Linked DNA regions of Homo sapiens: region 1 is linked to region 2. Evidence: promoter capture Hi-C in human tissues and cell types (Jung and others, 2019). All regions are on one chromosome and are shown on one strand. Each heading gives the region's core, a stretch centred on a gene start or on the middle of the fragment in contact. The rest is flanking DNA. Distances are from core to core; before and after follow the strand shown. Region 1 overlaps SCFD2 (sec1 family domain containing 2). Region 2 holds the start of GSX2 (GS homeobox 2).

The links. Contacts are between HindIII fragments. The study calls those that stand out against the background at their distance.
Region 1: a fragment that was not itself captured here is called in contact with the fragment with the promoter of GSX2 in region 2 in 1 of the 25 tissues and cell types used here (lymphoblastoid cells).

Annotation. Positions count from the first base shown.
Region 1 is chr4:53,194,341-53,198,273 of GRCh38, forward strand. All of the region lies in intron 4 of SCFD2 (sec1 family domain containing 2), which reads right to left. Among named protein-coding and RNA genes, the nearest start is that of SCFD2, 170 kb to the right of the region's middle. RefSeq lists an enhancer at 967-3,933. The HindIII fragment of the contact is 8,584 bases long and covers 1-3,933 here.
Region 2 is chr4:54,098,878-54,102,915 of GRCh38, forward strand. It overlaps GSX2 (GS homeobox 2), which reads left to right and starts at 1,286. Exons shown (of 2, transcript NM_133267.3): 1 at 1,286-2,041; 2 at 2,705-3,621. The coding sequence starts at 1,468. The coding sequence ends at 3,045. RefSeq lists enhancers at 1,130-1,920, 1,921-2,712, 2,713-3,502. The HindIII fragment of the contact is 7,597 bases long and covers 1-2,943 here.

The DNA.
Region 1 (3,933 bases), core at 162-2,661, 900 kb before region 2:
AATGCTTATTCCAATTATGTAAAGAAAAAACTCACTATTATCTATTAAAACCTTTTTAGAACCTATAATTATATAAGTTATTGCTAGCAGTACATTTGTGCCTCACTTTTGAAGACTATTATTCACTATGAAAATCCACTCTAGTAACACATATATTCTTTTCTTCATATTACGGATGAACATAGATCAAATTTCTTAAAGAACTAAGTTTTACTCAGCCAAAGAAGTACCAGTAGTTTCAATTTATTGTTGAAACTAGAGGCTTTCCATAGTAGAAATCCATCATTAGAAAATAACACAGATTTAGGATAACTTAATGATTTGAAGGAAATCATAGACTAGCTGAGATGAACACAAACCATCTTTTATCTTAATCCTTCTCTACAGAGTATCAGCCTCCTAAACCAAAGATTTCTTTTCATCACTACCTGATGACCTCTGGCACAAATCACCCTATATCCCTTCTGTCTCCAACCCAGTACACACGAGCGACACTCTGTCTCAAAAAATTTAAAAAAAGATTTTATTTTCTCGTTTAGAGCCACACATTTGAGCATCATGGCTGTAGGTACAGATACAGCTGCTGATAAAAAGTCAATGGATTTGAACTGGACAGATTGGACATTAACAGGATTATAGGTTACAGATGTCATGTAAAAACCCCAAGTGGCTTTAAAAACAGAAAAGTCAGTATGTATCATGTAGTGGTAAAGCAGGCTAAGAGAATGGGCTCTACAGTCAGAATGGCTGGTTACAAGGACCGGCTCTGCCACGGCCAGTAGTGTGACTTGAGCATGTTACTCAAGCCTCTGTATCCCAGCTTCGTCAATTTAAAAATCGAGTGCTGTAAGGATTAAAAATAATGGTATATGTAAAGAACTTAACATTGGCATGGCATATAAGAACTTAACAAGTGAGATCCACTAAAATTATTAGGAGTAGTAGTAGTAATAGTATGTTATCGGTCAGAGACAACTTCCCCGATTTTTTTATGTTGGACCTAATCACATCTTTCACTTCTGCACATCTGGTGAAGTCAAATAAATGACTTTCCTTTTCAGAAACCTGCCTTTACCTCTAATTGTAGTCAAGGCAAATAGTCCTGATAGGCAAATAGCCCCCAGGTGACCCTTCTGGTCTGGGCTCACTGAGATATTAACCCCACATTCCTACGGATCCTGGTTTCACATTGTGTCCTTCAAATGCTTTCACCATGCCACTTCTCATAGTCAGCCCCAGTTTTTAAGGTGCATTTAAAATAAGCTTACATTTGGAACCAGCTAAGAATGCTAAAAACAGATGTGCTACTTTCCAGACAGACTGAAGAAATCGTACGAACAACTGATTCAGTACTACCTGGATTGTGACTAAAACCTATCAAATTATAGCTCCTGATAACAAGCCTGAAGAAAAAAGTTAATTTAGTGATAGTGCCCTGTTATTACACATTTAGGGCAAAGAAAAGTACATTTCTATGGCAATTTCCAAGATATTAAAAATGAGATAAAACCAGATGAGAGAAAAACAGAAATCTAGCTCAAGACTTAACATCACCATATGTGAAATATCAAATAAATAGCTACTCTAATCTCAAATGGTAATCTTTCCTTTCAGCCTTTCTCATTTTATTGGACCAAATATTTCAAGCCTCATCTGTGTTCTATTACAATCCTAAAGACAACATGATATCTAGGATAGTGTTTATATATAAAAATAATTTTAGATCAGGAGGTGACAGAAACTGATGTCCAGATTCCATTACCCTAAGACTTCATGTAATTACTTTGTCTTTTTAAAAATCCTTAAATGATCATTTTCTCCTTTGGCACAGAGTCTTTTGACTCCTCTTTTGATGCCAACATAGTCTCATCATGAAAATAAATTGAAAGTAGGTGGTCTGGTTAGTCTTCACAATGCTACATTTTAATCAGGCAAAGCAGTGAAAAACATGATTGTCGAAATGCTGGCGTGTCTTCAAACAACAGTGTATGCTGTCCATTTTACTCTCAGTGAAAAAGCTCTTCAAGAGATTTCGATAAAGGTTTCCTTCCTACTTGCAGTCCACATTTGTAATGTTTATATAAGTGGAGGATATAAATCTTTCTCCAATGAACCCCATGGTTTTTAAAGCAGATTCTTGTTATAAACTGCCTGTTTCCGTTTTGCCTGCCTAAGCAAGCCAGGCAAAGACCATTCGCGAGAGACTGGAACTAATTTAATGTGCTCCAGGTTTAAGCCCCTAGCCTCTGCGCCTTTGCAGGGAGATTTTACACAGTGGATTACTGCTGACTTTAACAATGATTCATATGATAAGTGGCTTTTGATTTGTTTTTTAATGTCAGAAAATATGCATTGGCAAAAGAAATGTCATTGAAATCATTTCGTTAAAGCAATATCCATAAAAAGGGGTGGGGGAAGGAGAATTCAACTTTTCATCAAAAAAAAAAAAGTCTAAATCATGCCAATGTCTTGTTCACATAAATTTATAGTTTTACTCAATGCAAAAGAATACAAAGCTATTTAGAGACAGCTAGATTTAAGACTGGATGAACTGCAAGATAGGATTGGTTGAATCGATATACTTTACCACAAAATTGGTTATTATTATTAAAATACCAAAGCCACACGGAAGATAGACAAAAGCATCATTCTTTATCCAGCCTCAAAGACACCCTGTGTGCTTTTTTCAAAGATTCACAATTCCTTGAAACCAACACTAATTAAAACAGAAACACATTCACAAAACCCGGAGTAAGATCCATCATCCCAAAGCATGGCGGGGGAGGAAAATTTCCTCTGTTTAACTCAAAGGAACAGAGCAGCAACAACATTAATTCAAAAGAAAACAAACTGAGAAACAAAAGTATGTATTATACTATTATTCTAGAGTTCTGCATTTAAGAGGCCTGAACTGTTCATCAAAACATACTTTCAAAATGCCAAATGTAATAAGATATGCTTGTCCCCAATCATCTGTTAGTTTCTTCTGGTTTTTCTTGAAGTTCCTTTGAAAGGATTATCCAAAGTCTTACAGTAGGGGGCAGTATTGTAACATCATGCTCACACTTAAAAGGACTCCAGGTCAGCCCAAAAGAGGAAAAAGGGCCATTATTCATAAAGACTTAACTATGTTGGCATAATTACAGAAATTATTACAAAATTTCAGATTTTTTCCCCAAAGCCTAACCTGCTTTCTTACCACCTACCTATAATATTAAGATGTCTTAAACAATAGAAAAAGCAAATGCTTTTTATTGAAAAAGTCTGTCCAACAATCTGATACATGCTGATTGCTGTTTAGCAGTGAAAGAACTATTTATTGAATGTCATATTTCAAAAGCATGAAGACTTCTCCAATTGCAAATATCCAGATGTTCTTTATTGTAAATATGACATTAGAAGATGGCAAAAAAAAAAAAAAAAAAAAGAAATGAATATTTCATCTTGCTCTAAAATGAAATGCAGAGCTGGTTTATAAACACAAGTCAATGTAACCTATGCTAATGAGATGTTAATTTCAAAAATATGGGGTAAAAAAATATTTACAAGTATAAGAATGTCTTCATATTTTCCAGGAATAAACCTTTTCTTTCCATCTGTCTAGGATGGCTCTTGGCTGGCCTGCTAGGAAATATGGAAACTGAAACTATTTGTACTTAATGCTTGGCTTCCAATGACTTAACAAAATTCTGGGAGTTTGCGGACAGGAAAATGCAAAGTCCTCACCATGTCCCAAGATAAAACATATAGATATATAATGGCAATTTTTTTCCATGCATAATGGTGATCCATATGGATTTCTCTTAATTCTGGAAATACGAGTGATTGCAGCTTTTATTTAATAATTGAAAGCCTTAAGGTCACTAAACAAAACAATAATTACTGTATTTGACTTTAAAAGAATCAAACCTCCTATCATCTTAGGCAAGTACT
Region 2 (4,038 bases), core at 36-2,535:
GAAGTTAGCTGCTCTGGAAAAAGGATCAGACTTCTAACTATTGCCCAACCACATGGCCCCAGCCCGCTTTTCTGCAGGGGGAAATGAAGAGAGAAAATGGCCACCTCTGCTGCCTTGCCTTCTCCGAAGATAAATAGTCCCAATAGTTTGGCAGCCACCCTCTCTCGGGCAGTAAGGGGTGTGCAAGACTTCCATGGACCAGAGAGAGTTCCCTTACAAAGCCACTTCTGCCAATCAGAGGCAAGATTCCCTGGATGGCTGAATCCTCTTCATCCTTTTTAGGTTCTTAAGATGCAGAGGAAAGAGTGCTTCCTGGTTAGCCTTGCTAAGCTGCCCATGATTGGTAAAAATGAGGGACAGGAAATCCTCAGACCCAGAGCGAAGGTCTATCTAATCCCTGCTGCGTCTTTAGGAGGGCTTGGTGTTTGAGGTCCTCCCTCCAAAATCTTCAGGATGGAGTTTGTAGGATTGCCCTGGAATGCCATGGTGTTACTACTTGGAGAAAGAAAAGGGTGACTCTTCAACATCTCTCTCTCTCTGCGGAAGTGGGAGGTGCCGATCAGAAAGGGAAACAAGGAAGGGTCGTTGGTCTGAGTGGCCCCAGGAGGGCCCCAAGTACAAAGACACTTCAGACCTTGTCGAACATCAGCATGAAAAGCTTGACGGTTTCTTAGCTGGGAGGCCTCACAGTTCTGCGCCGGACAGTCCTGAACTAACCACCTGAATGACCTCTGCCAAGTCCAAAAGCTGTGGACAGGGGTAGGTGTAACCGTGGCCAGAGCTGCGCTCAGGGACTGGACGACTGCCAGTCCGTCGCCCGCACAATCCTGCTCCAAACCGCAGGCCTCACACTTCACCGCGCCGCAGCCACCCCTACCACAGAGGAGCTGGAAACACTGAGCATTCCTATTAAATAAGCCTCCAAGTCCCCACCTGGTACGCTTTGCGGTGGGGCGTGGGGAAGAGTTGGGCTGCGGCCAGGGTAGCGAGAGGGGGTGGGATGGAGGATGCAGCGCTGTGATTTCTCAGTAAAGCGTGGAGAAAGAGGGGGAGGAGGCCGGCCTCCCCGGGAAATTAACAAAACCTACACTTTGCAAAGTCTCCCCCATCCCCCTCCCCCGAGTTCTTCCCCGCCGCGCGCCCGCCCCTCCTCGCGGCTTCTGTTGTGACTCGGGCAGCCTATCCCGAGGGTGCGGAGCTGCCGAGGAGCCTGAGCCGAGCGGTACTCCGCAGCATCACGTGCCAGGGTGGGGGGCTATAAAATACCCGAGCCGGGGCGCCGGGCGGGGGACGTGAGGACCAGCCCTCTCCGGGGACCCCTTTGTTCCCAGCCCAGACGCCAACACCTCTGCGTCCCCAAGGGCTTGACTGCCCGTGTCTGCGCGGCTCCCAGGGCAGAGCTTAGAACACTAGAGGAGAGGGGTCGCCGCGAACTGCCGGGGCTTCCAGCCACCCACCCCTCTCGACATGTCGCGCTCCTTCTATGTCGACTCGCTCATCATCAAGGACACCTCACGGCCTGCGCCCTCGCTGCCTGAACCGCACCCCGGGCCGGATTTCTTCATCCCGCTTGGCATGCCGCCCCCATTGGTGATGTCCGTGTCCGGCCCCGGCTGCCCGTCCCGCAAGAGCGGCGCGTTCTGCGTGTGCCCTCTCTGCGTCACTTCGCACCTGCACTCCTCTCGGGGGTCTGTGGGCGCCGGCAGCGGGGGCGCAGGGGCCGGGGTTACCGGGGCCGGAGGCAGTGGGGTGGCAGGGGCCGCAGGGGCACTGCCTCTGCTTAAGGGCCAGTTCTCTTCGGCTCCTGGGGACGCGCAGTTTTGCCCGCGGGTGAACCATGCGCATCATCACCACCACCCGCCGCAGCACCACCATCACCATCATCAGCCCCAGCAGCCTGGCTCGGCCGCGGCGGCGGCAGCAGCAGCAGCGGCGGCGGCGGCCGCGGCGGCCTTGGGGCACCCGCAGCACCACGCACCTGTCTGCACCGCCACCACCTACAACGTGGCGGACCCGCGGAGATTCCACTGCCTCACCATGGGTAGGGCGGGGTCTTGGGGCACCTGCGCTCCGCGCCTTTCGCGCTCCTGGAGCAAACTTTCCACCTCCAGTGGAGGAAGTGGGAGCCCGGGGACAGGGTGAAGAGAGAGGACGGGCTTTTAGTGTAACCGTAGAGTCAGCCACAGAAGTTCCACGAAAGTGGAAGTTAGTTTGCCAGCTTCTCCACTCAGCCTGGTGCGTTTTACTCCTAGTAGTAGGTGCTCGAGTATTGCCTTATTAATACTGGGGCCTTAGGGACCTCGAACGTCACGGCGGATAAACCAGAGGTTAACTGCTTGGGATTTGGGGTGGGTGTGTTTGAACCTGTGTGGCATCCCCGCGTCGGGGCGGCTAAAGCGTCTTGACGTTTTTGGCTAAGCCTGCGCGCTTCTCCGCTTGGCTCAAAGGGAGGCGATCAGATAGTGCAAGCCCCCATCCCTCTTTAATCCTGTGACTTCGCATCCTGCGCATCGAAGACCTTTATTTGCTTTGCACGTCTCTTTTCTTCCCCGCTAAGCAACCACGTGCCTTGAAATGGGAAAGGGATACAGATGTTCGGCTGGGCTTCCCCGGGTGGGTCCCTGAAATGCGTCCTGGTTAGCACATGGGGTGGGAGCACCTTGCCCGAGCCTTACCTCTCTACCCTCTCTTCGCCGGTCCGCAGGAGGCTCTGACGCCAGCCAGGTACCCAATGGCAAGAGGATGAGGACGGCGTTCACTAGCACGCAACTCCTGGAGCTGGAGAGAGAATTCTCTTCCAACATGTACCTGTCTCGACTCCGGAGGATTGAAATCGCCACTTACCTGAACCTGTCGGAGAAGCAGGTGAAAATCTGGTTTCAGAACCGCCGAGTGAAGCACAAGAAGGAGGGGAAGGGCACGCAGAGGAACAGTCACGCGGGCTGCAAGTGCGTCGGGAGCCAGGTGCACTACGCGCGCTCCGAGGATGAGGACTCCCTGTCGCCGGCCTCAGCCAACGATGACAAGGAGATTTCCCCCTTATGAGGGAGGGCCTCCTCCCTCACATCCCCCGCTCCTGGCAGACCAGGCAACGCCAAGGCGTGGGGCACCCAGGGGCCAGAATCCTTGCTCATTGCAGTGGTCCCATCTGGAGAAGAAACGAACCTGGAAGTTCTGGAATGGACAAGCCGGGACCTGACCCTTCGCGTCTCCTTCTTGACCTGTTTATCTAGGACTCCAACTTGAAGTTACAGATTTTTTTAAAAAATGTAAATAACCTATAATTCAACTCATTCTTGTCGTATAACAGAGGAAAAACAGGGTTGGTTTAAGTTTAACACTGTATGGGGTTTTTGAAAGCACATGTCAGTTCCCCATCCCTACTCTCTTTCAGAACTCGATAAGAACACAGGATTTATTGATTATTTTCTGTTGTCGTTTTCAAACAAAAACACCCAAGTTGAAAATAATTTAGAAAATTAGACCTTGTAGGTCTTGCTTTCTGAAATTTCGCCTGGGGAGAATTTAAAATCTAAGTCGCTGGAAGTCCCTTTGTATGTGAATAGGTTTATATAAAATTTATATTTATATTTATTTAAATAAATGAAACAAAAACCAGAATTTTAAATCTGTGGTGTTTGCTCTCCCTATCTTCTCCTGCCCCCTCCTCCAATGTCTAGAGAAAGGCATATGCAGGAAAAAGCTGTCTGAGGAATTCGAGGAAAATGTTGAGTAAGAACTTGGTAATGTGGGTCTCTTGACTGAGGGAGTTTGTGGCTCAATGGGTTTTCTATGTAACAGAACTTTCGCCAAGGAGACACCTTTAGTCATGATGGCATCTACCAGGCAGTGCCTCTCCATCCTTAAAATAGGCAACCTCCTCACAGTTGATAGGACAAATCACTCCATTTGGAATGACACTGACCATTAACGACAGGTAAACCTTTATTTAGCAAGGAAGGGTAAAAATCCCCCATCTAGTTTTTGTTTTCTTCTTTCTACTTCCTCATTTCTCTCAGTACGAAAACTTGAATTATG